3 separate regions of the Homo sapiens genome follow, and all the other regions are linked to region 1. The links are contacts of gene promoters, found by promoter capture Hi-C in human tissues and cell types (Jung and others, 2019). All regions are on one chromosome and are shown on one strand. Each heading gives the region's core, a stretch centred on a gene start or on the middle of the fragment in contact. The rest is flanking DNA. Distances are from core to core; before and after follow the strand shown. Region 1 overlaps EIF2B1 (eukaryotic translation initiation factor 2B subunit alpha). Region 2 holds the start of PITPNM2 (phosphatidylinositol transfer protein membrane associated 2). Region 3 holds the start of DNAH10OS (dynein axonemal heavy chain 10 opposite strand).

Region 1 (2,886 bases), core at 188-2,687:
TTATGTGTATATGTATGTTTTATTTATGCATATATATACACACACATAATATATATACACAAATATTTTTAAAATATTATTTATATATTTACATATAAAGTATGTATGTATAAAATACGTGTATTTATATATAAATATTATATATATTTTAAAATAGAGACACATTCACTCTGTTGCCCAGGCTGTAGTGTAGTACAGTGATCATAGCTTACTGCAGTCTTGAACTCCTAGCCTGAAGCAATCTTTCCACTTCCCAAAGTGCTAGGATTACAGGCATGAGCCACTGTGGCCGGCCTGTCATTTGTTTTCATTTTAATTGAGCACATTTGACCTCAATTTATTACAATCTCTCTCTCCATTATTTAATTTAGAAAAGCTTCATGAAAGCTTTTTTTAGTTAAAATATATGTAACATAAGGCCGGGCGTAGTAGCTCACGCCTATAATCCCAGCACTTTGGGAGGCTGAGGCAGGTAGATCATCTGAGGTCAGGAGTTCGAGACCAGCCTGGCCAACATGGTGAAACCCCATATCTACTAAAAATACAAAAAATTAGCTGGGCATGGTGGCGGGTGCCTGTAATCCCAGCTACTTGGCAGGCTGACGCAGGAGAATCGCTTGAACCTGGGAGGCGGAGGTCTGCAGGCAGAGTGTTGAGTCACATGGTAACTATATATTTAACTTTCAGAAACTAATGATTTTCCACAGCAGCTGCACTACTTTACATTCCCACTAGCAAAGCACAAAGGTTCCAATTTCTCTACATCCTTGCCAACACTTGTTTTTTTAAATTTTTTTATTTTTTGAGATGGAGTTTCACTCTTGCTGTCCAGGCTGGAGTGCAATGGCACAGTCTTGGCTCACTGCAACCTCCAGTGCCCGGGTTCAAGCGAGTCTCCTGCTTCAGCCTCCCTAGTAGCTGGGATTACAGGCACCCCCCATCCCACCATGCCCAGCTAATTTTTTGTATTTTTAGTAGAGATGGGGTTTCCCTATATTGGCCAGCTGGTCTCAAACTCCTGACCTCAGGTGATCCACCCACCTCGGCCTCCCAAAGTGCTGGGATTACAGGCGTGAGCCACCACATCCAGCCTCTAGTGGCTGTTTCTATATCCTTTGAGAAACATTTATTTTTTTGATTCCAAAGTCAGAATTAGATATATCTAATATATGTATTAGATATATGTATATCTATATTATATACATAACTTTCTATTGCTGTTTTTTAATTGTTCCTTTATTGTAATTGAGACGAGGTCTCACCGTGTTGCCTAGGCTGGTCCCAAACTCATGGGTTCAGGTGATCCACCCACCTCGGCCTCCCAAAATGCTGGAATACAGGCATGCACCACTGTGCCCGGCCCGCTTTTCTGTGGCTTCTACTTCAGATGCACTCTAGAGCTCATCCATTCCATTTTCTGCCTTCCCAGATTGGAACCAACCAGATGGCTGTGTGTGCCAAAGCACAGAACAAACCTTTCTATGTGGTTGCAGAAAGTTTCAAGTTTGTCCGGCTCTTTCCACTAAACCAGCAAGACGTCCCAGATAAGTTTAAGGCAAGAGTTTTACATATTTGAAGGGGTACTAAAGTCTAAACAGAAACCTTTGGAAATTGTAGTCCTAAGAATGTTCCAGTAATTTTTTCACTTCCTATTGCTACTTTCCCCAACACTTGGAATACAAAGATAAATTGGTGATTGGACTCACACATTTGTCCCTAGAACTTCAGTCTTTCAGTCTCTTTAAGTAGCACCATAGATGGGTGGAGAGGAAGCCCGAAGCTGGTGGGTAAGTCCCAGCTTTGGGCTTAACTGAGCTCAGCTCCCATCACCACAACTTACAAACTGTGCGAGTTGAGGCAAGTCCTTTCATTTCAACCTCTGAACCGGTTTTCTTGTCTGTAAAATGGCATAGCAGTATCTGACAGGGTCATGAGGATTCTAAGATAATCTTAGCACAGTCCCTGGCACGCTGCAAGCTCTCTATTGTGACTCTCGATCTTCCCTTGAGAGGTCTGGAGAAGTTAATCCGGCATGAGAATGAGGGGACATGGGATTTAAGTTTGTTACACTACAGCTCTCAGCCAGCACACTGCCATGATCTGGCTCATGGCCACAACTCTGCCCTCGTCTCTAGTGTCCTGCATAGCTTAGTTTCTCCCATTTTCAGAGAGCAGTCTCAGGAAGTAGCACACTGATCACTCACACCAAGGCCCTACCAGGTCAGAGCACTAAATATTCAGTGCCGACTAATGTGTACTTCTCTCCTCAGTATAAGGCAGACACTCTCAAGGTCGCGCAGACTGGACAAGACCTCAAAGAGGAGCATCCGTGGGTCGACTACACTGCCCCTTCCTTAATCACTCTGCTGTTTACAGACCTGGGCGTGCTGACACCCTCAGCAGTCAGCGATGAGCTCATCAAGCTCTATCTGTAACCTGTGAGCCCTTTCCTGCCAAGGTGCAGCTTACGTAGTTGAGGCAGGGTGAGTAGCTGCTTGACACCCCAGTGAGTCAGGCCAAAACTGAGATGTGTTTAATGAAGATTTATGGAGTAAGGACTTAAAATCATACATCTTGGAGAACCTTTCTTACTCATTTCAGTCCCATCTAAAAATGTGTCAGCTATTCTAAATCCCAACTTAAATTGTTCTTACGGTTTCTAGAAACTTTCCTTTTCAGTTTCCAGAAATACAAGTTAGATAATTGGCTACTTAACTGATGAAAGATGAGCCCAAGTCCACCTGTCTTCATCCTCCCCTGCACTCCAGACTGATCTGCCTAAAGCACGCGAGATGCAGGCGAAAAGCAGCCACACCCCTCTGCCACAAATGACCAACAGCTGGTCAGGACGTTACACGCGGTGCCTTGTAAGAGGCAAGAAACACT
Region 2 (2,886 bases), core at 238-2,737, 470 kb after region 1:
ATTATGTACCATGTCATCTCTATGACTACAGATTTCAAGGATAATTTTTACATCTAACAATTTCACTGTAACAGTGACCGATAATGTGAGAAATGTGCTTTTTACAGTGCTGCTGGTGGGTAGACAAGTGCTTGCTGCAGTTGTTTCTGAATCTAGCCAGATGCTGGAGTCGTGAAGCTGTAAGCTCCGCGGGAGCAGGGACCATCTCTCTTTCTTGCACTACAGGCACTCAATAAATACTTGTGGCTGTGAACTGGCGTGTGGCCTTTGTGTGTTTATTTCTGCTAGCTGGCTGCAGGAGCGGGTTGTTGGTGATTTTAAGTCCCAGGCATAGAGAAGTCCTTGAGTTATGGGTTAAGGGGCGTCCATCCAGGAGCACAGTTCCCGTTGGGACTCTGTGGGCTCCGCAGATCTTTCTGGATGGATCCTAGGGCACCTCTTGGTGGAGGGAAGGAGCTGAAGCGTTCTAGGTGATGGTGGTACGCCTTGGTCCTCCTCTGCGTGGTCATGGTCAGGGGCACCTGGAGGCGAGTCGGGAACGATGGCCTTCCTGGCCCGTTCAGTTGGGTTCTGCCGTGACCCCAGGAGGTGAGCAGCTGTCAGGGGCTCGGCCTCCCCGGCTTCATCTGGAGTCATCTAGGCCGCCTTAATTTTAGCTTGTCCTCTCTCCTCCAGGGGAGCACCGCCGTCTCCTCAGCCTTATAAGGTGACAAGTAGGGATGGGTCACACATCACTAAGTTTTAGGTGTGCTCTCTTTAGTTCCATGACTTCAGATTTTGCCAAACAAGTCCACCCTGGCTCAACCTAACAAACACCTCATGTTTTTAAGGAATGTCACCAGGCGCTCCCCCACCGGGGGCTCTTCCCATTGGAGAGCCCTGTCGTGCCAGATCATCCGGATTAAACTGTTCGTGATCCTCTTCCAGCTACTCCCTGAGGTGGGGACCGGGACGGCTGCGCTCCCGGCTCTGCCGTTCCCTGGGCCGCGGCCCGGGCGTCCTGAGGGGAGAGCGCGGACCCACCGTGTGGCGAGCACCGCGCCCGGGGCTGGGCTTCGGTGAGCTGCCCGCTGCGCTCTGCCCTCCCTGGTTTACCATTTCGCTCCTAAGAAACTTCATTTTTTAAAATGAGGCTGTTTTAAGAGTCACAGTGGCCGCAAGTCGGCCGGTTCCCGCCCCCGAGTGCGCTCGGCTGCTGCGGACGGTGGGCGAGGAGCCCGGGGCGGGGATCCGCGCCGCCGCCCCCGAGTCCAGTCCCGGGCCCTGAGGACACGGGCGAGCCGGGGAGGAGCGGGGTCGCCGCGGCAGGTCTGAGGAACCAGGCGGGCTGCCCGAGTCGGAGAGGTTTCTTCCGGCGGAGGCGGCGGGGCCGGGCCGAGACTCCGCAGGGACGCGCCCCCGCCGCCGCCGCCGCCGCTCCCCCGCGCGGCCTGAGGAGGCGCCGCCGCCACTGAGGGAATGCGAGCCCGGCCCGGCGCGCGCGGGCAGCAGCGGCCGCTGGGGTGCGCGGGGCACCGCGGCGCCGCGGCGTAGAGCTGTCCAGCCGGCCCCGGCCGCCCGCCCGGCGCTTCCTTCTCAGCTCGCGGCCGCCTCAGCGAGAGCCGCCCGCCAGCACGTGCGCCGCCGCCGCCCGCCTGCGACGCTCGGGAGCAATGCCCGCCGGGGCTCTGCCGCTCGCCCGGGGCCAGCAGGCGGCGGGGGCGCGCGGGGCGCAGCCGGCCGGGCCGGGGCCGCGGGGCGGGCGCTCCCCGTGAGGCGGCGTGAGGTGGCGGCGGCCCAGCCGGGGCCCCGAAGAGGACAGAGCCCGCGGCCGCGCCGAGCGGGGTGAGTGCGTCCGGGCGGCCGCTCCGCAGGCCCGCGGTGAGTCCCGCAGTGCCGGGCGCTGGCCGGGGACCTGGGGATCTGGGCGGCGGCTCCCAGAGAGGCCCCGGCCCGCCCGCCCGCCGAGCCTCCAGCCCGCCGGGGGCTGGAGGAGGGAGCGGAGACCCGGGCAGGGAGGAGGGTGTGGCGTACGGGAGCCCCGCTCGGGAGACCGCCCGAGCCTGGCCTCAGTGAGTCGCCGGCCCTGGATCCGTGCCCGAAACGCTGATTTCCGAATTTCCGTCGGTCGCGACCGCGTGGGGGACCCCCGCCAGGGACAAGTGTCATAGCGGTCGGGGGGCAGGCGTGGGCAGTGCCGGTGCCAGGGCGAGGAAGGGGCTATCGGGAGGAAGCGGAGGTGAGCCCCCGGCCCGCCTTCTCTGCTTCCCGCCTCCAGCTGAACGTCCCCAGGCCCGGGCCGTGGCCTCTGCTTGTCGGGGGCCCAGGGTTGGGGTGTGGCCCGTCTCCATCCTCAGTGCCCCCTTCGTGTGGTAATGGGGTGCCGGCTCTGTCTTCTTCCCACCCCGAATCCTTTCTTATCCGTGGCAGGGCTGATCGGGGGGCCTTGGGGAGAGGGAAAGTTCAGTGTCCCCCGCCCCAGTGTGCACTGCCTCCCCGCAAGAAATCCCAAACGGCCACTCCAGGTGAACATAGTGCGCGCGGTGCAAATGTCATTTCAAGGCAAGTCCTCCAGGCTTGTCCCCTTTCCACCGACTTGCTCCTGCAGAGACATCCTGCACTCCTCTCCCTCCCACTGAAGTGTGGGCTGGGTGCCTCTCCAAACACCCCGGCCTACCTGCCTCCCCCACCCAGAGTCGGGATTCTTCAAAGGAGACCTCACTGGAACATCTGTCTTTGTCCACAACCAGCTCTCTCCCCGGCCTCCACCTGGGAGTGACCAGAGCTGCTAGGATAGACCCCCCACTTCTGGAGGGAAGGCAGTAAGTGCTCCCCTTCATCTGAATCTCCCCTAACATCCATCCCCCAGACTCCTCTCTGCTCTGAACTCCCACTGCCTGCTATCTG
Region 3 (2,886 bases), core at 283-2,782, 310 kb before region 1:
ATGACGCTACTCCTCATAGCACCACAACCTGAATGTGTGTTCATATTTTTTTGTTAGTTTTATCCAAAATGTTTAAGATCCCAACAAACTTTATTTTCTAAACCTGCCTTCCTTCTGTTTTGTGTCTTTTATTAAACAAACACCTGAAGGAGGGCTAGGAGACTGCAGGAGGGAGAGCAATCACAGGTCCCAGAAGCGACTCCGGCCTCCTCCCGGCCCAGAGCTAGTCCTTAGAATGTGCTGCGCTCCTGAGCTTCTGTGGGAAGCTGCTTTTGCCTCTGATGGCCCCTGCCCACTGTGCTGCCCGTGCTAGCCCCTCTCCTCCCTCATGGAGTGAAGCCACCCCTCACCTCCAGGTGGCCAGCCAGGGCTCCAGGCCAGCCTCATGGTGCACAGAGGGAAGGGGTGCCCAGTGACCACTGGTCCTGGAGGTTCTGTGTCCTTACCTGACCCCACACAGACCCAGGCAGGCTGGGGGTAGAAGCTCATGCAGGAACTAAACACTAAGCTCAACAACTTCACAGTCGCCGTAGCAGGTCAGAGCCAAAGAAGCTAGGGCCAGAGAGTTCTGGAAGGGGGAGAAGTGGCTCCAGGTGACTGGTCACTTCTGCTCTGTGCCCGACATCATCAGCCCTTCTTGCCAAAAAGGAGCATCTGCTGAAACAGACCTGGATCATCGAAAACACACCTTTGGAAATTACATTAGGATTCTCACTTGTGCCAATGCTATGTATGCCAGGCACTTTTGCCTAATCAAGTGTTTTCTCTGAGAAGGAAAAGAAAACTCCACACATCTTAAAATACTCTCCAATATTTACTTTTTGATTATATAAATTCCTTTTAAAAAGTAGTATTAAAAACAAAACCATTCAGGTTAATTTGTATGGAAAGAGATTTAAGTGGCTGATTTCAAATGAAAAATCAGTGTCAGTCCCCCTCCTGCCTCTTGAGAGGCCCCAAGAAATGACAGCAGACCCGATCACTCTGACAACCCCAGGCTCCGAATTCATTAAGCAGTTTTCTTCACCCAAAGGTTAATCAGAATTCAGGGTGAGGCATACTCCTTGCAGCACCCAGTGAGAAATGTGCCTCGTGGTAAAGAGATCAGCTTCAAAAACCAAGCCGACTCCCATGGCGTTCCTTCTCATGGAGGTGGTGTAGACGGGGGTCCGGAAAGTATTCTGCAAGGGAAAGGCAGGTGAGATGCCCCCACGGAGAGAGGGTGCAGAGGGATAAAGGCAGAGGTGCAGTGTAAGTCTTGACAGGCAGGGGCCCCTGTGCAAGACTGCACCTGAGAACACGCACAAGGCTGGGGCTGCTCAGGGCCACCCTCCGCCAGCTTCACGGGGACCTGGCTTCACACTGACACCCTGGTTAAAAGTGGGTCCTGGCCCAGGCAGAGCAGAAGACATCTGCTGTCCACACCAGCGGGAACCACTTTATGACTCAGGCAATGTCTGCAGCATTTTGCAAGAAGGGAGGGAGTCTCCCCTTGGTTAGTCTAGACCACAGGATCACAGCTTGAGCCTGACACCTCTGGAAGGACCGGCATCCACACACACATACAGCCGCGCCTTTTCCAGGAAGCAGCTATCCGTAGCTTTTATCACGGCTCCAAGACTCTCCCCAGCCCATAAAGCTTAGGCACCCCTGTTTTAAAAAGTAGGACTGTTGGAAACCACCTCAGCCATAACTACAGTCAGAAGAGGAAGGGCCCTGGTGTCAGAGAGGAGGGGCTGGGACCTTCACCTGCAGCTTGAGGCGATGGGCTTCAATGGGGATGATCTTCAGGATCGGCAGGTCCACAACCAGCACCTTGGGTTTGCTCTTGATAAGACATCCTTTTTCTATATCCCAGTCAGCACCTTCCAGGTACAGTCCTGAGACAAAGCATCCTAGGGACACAAGGCAGAGACTGGATACAACTGGAGCATGCACAGCCTGCCACGGAGTGGCTCTATCAGGCGCACACACAGCGACACACAGGCCACTGGCTGGCCTCCTCCCCAGCGCATTGGGGACAGCCCAGGCCCTTCTCCAGCATTTCTGTCCTGCCCACCTTCCCTCTGTGGAGGAGCAGCCCAGACAGGAGACCCTGTGGCCCTGCCCCATGGCCCAGAGAAATGGGTGTGGGGCGGTGGCCTCTCCCCCAGGAATCCTCATTCCTGGGGCATCAAGGCCCACGGACTTAGACCACCCTGGGCCCCCAGGCTAGAAAGATGCATGGTCCCAGAGTCAGAATGGGCACCATGGCAACCCCAGCTACCCTGTGAGCCGAAGTGGCTGGGGAGCAGGAAGTCGAAGCCTCACAGAGAAAGTGGTCTCCGGGGAGGAGGACCCAGCAGATGTGCAAAGAGAGGAACACACTCCTGTGGCCCCAGAGAGAGTGGTGGCCCGGACACCTGCCACCTCCCCTGCCACTGAGACCTGGAGAGTCCCTGCATCTTTACCGTAAGTCCCCAGTCCTTAAGCCATCTCAAAAGAGCTTTTGTTCCTTGCAGTTAAAAGAACTCTAAGACAACATGGACCCGGGGAAACAGCAGTTTCCAGCTCTCATTTGCACAGTCAGTAACCAATGTCTAAGGGACCTGAAGTTCTGGCATAATCAAAGAGTTCCAACCAAGTTAGTCCATGCTGCTCTGTGGCTCCCATGCCCCTGGCCCCGTCAGGGGTTACAAGAAAGCCACCTGATGGTTTTTGCAAGAGCTAATTCTGACCTAGGAGCCCACTTGCCATGAGCTAGCAGAGTGAACATGGTTCAGGTCTCCCCTGCCATAGACCCCAGGTCTCAACGGAGAAAGTGGAAGAGAAACTTCCGTATCCACCCTCAGAGGTGTTAAGACATGGGCAGTGCAGAGACACAGGAAATATTTGCAGCAGGCTGGC

The links. The method cuts DNA at HindIII sites, captures the fragments that hold promoters and counts their contacts. A contact is called where the count stands out against the background at its distance.
Region 2: a contact is called between the fragment with the promoter of PITPNM2 here and a fragment that was not itself captured in region 1, in 3 of the 25 tissues and cell types used here (aorta, dorsolateral prefrontal cortex and heart right ventricle).
Region 3: the fragment with the promoter of DNAH10OS here is called in contact with a fragment that was not itself captured in region 1 in 4 of the 25 tissues and cell types used here (bladder, dorsolateral prefrontal cortex, lymphoblastoid cells and 1 more).

What each region holds. Positions count from the first base shown.
Region 1 is chr12:123,621,305-123,624,190 of GRCh38, reverse strand. It overlaps EIF2B1 (eukaryotic translation initiation factor 2B subunit alpha), which reads left to right. Exons shown (of 9, transcript NM_001414.4): 8 at 1,430-1,555; 9 at 2,271-2,886. The coding sequence ends at 2,435. Among named protein-coding and RNA genes, the nearest start is that of SNORA9B, 6.0 kb to the right of the region's middle. RefSeq lists an enhancer at 1,615-2,814. The HindIII fragment of the contact is 7,939 bases long and covers 1-2,886 here.
Region 2 is chr12:123,149,691-123,152,576 of GRCh38, reverse strand. PITPNM2 (phosphatidylinositol transfer protein membrane associated 2) reads left to right here and starts at 1,487. Exons shown (of 26, transcript NM_020845.3): 1 at 1,487-1,824. It also overlaps a transcript of MPHOSPH9 not described here. RefSeq lists silencers at 1,104-1,303, 1,324-1,583, 1,604-1,743, 1,844-1,933. The HindIII fragment of the contact is 7,714 bases long and covers 1-2,886 here.
Region 3 is chr12:123,933,630-123,936,515 of GRCh38, reverse strand. It overlaps DNAH10OS (dynein axonemal heavy chain 10 opposite strand), which reads left to right and starts at 1,532. Exons shown (of 2, transcript NR_187476.1): 1 at 1,532-2,451. DNAH10 (dynein axonemal heavy chain 10) reads right to left here. Exons shown (of 79, transcript NM_001372106.1): 78 at 1,750-1,895; 79 at 802-1,181. The coding sequence ends at 1,035. CCDC92 (coiled-coil domain containing 92) reads left to right here. Exons shown (of 5, transcript NM_025140.3): 5 at 1-890. The HindIII fragment of the contact is 2,982 bases long and covers 1-2,576 here.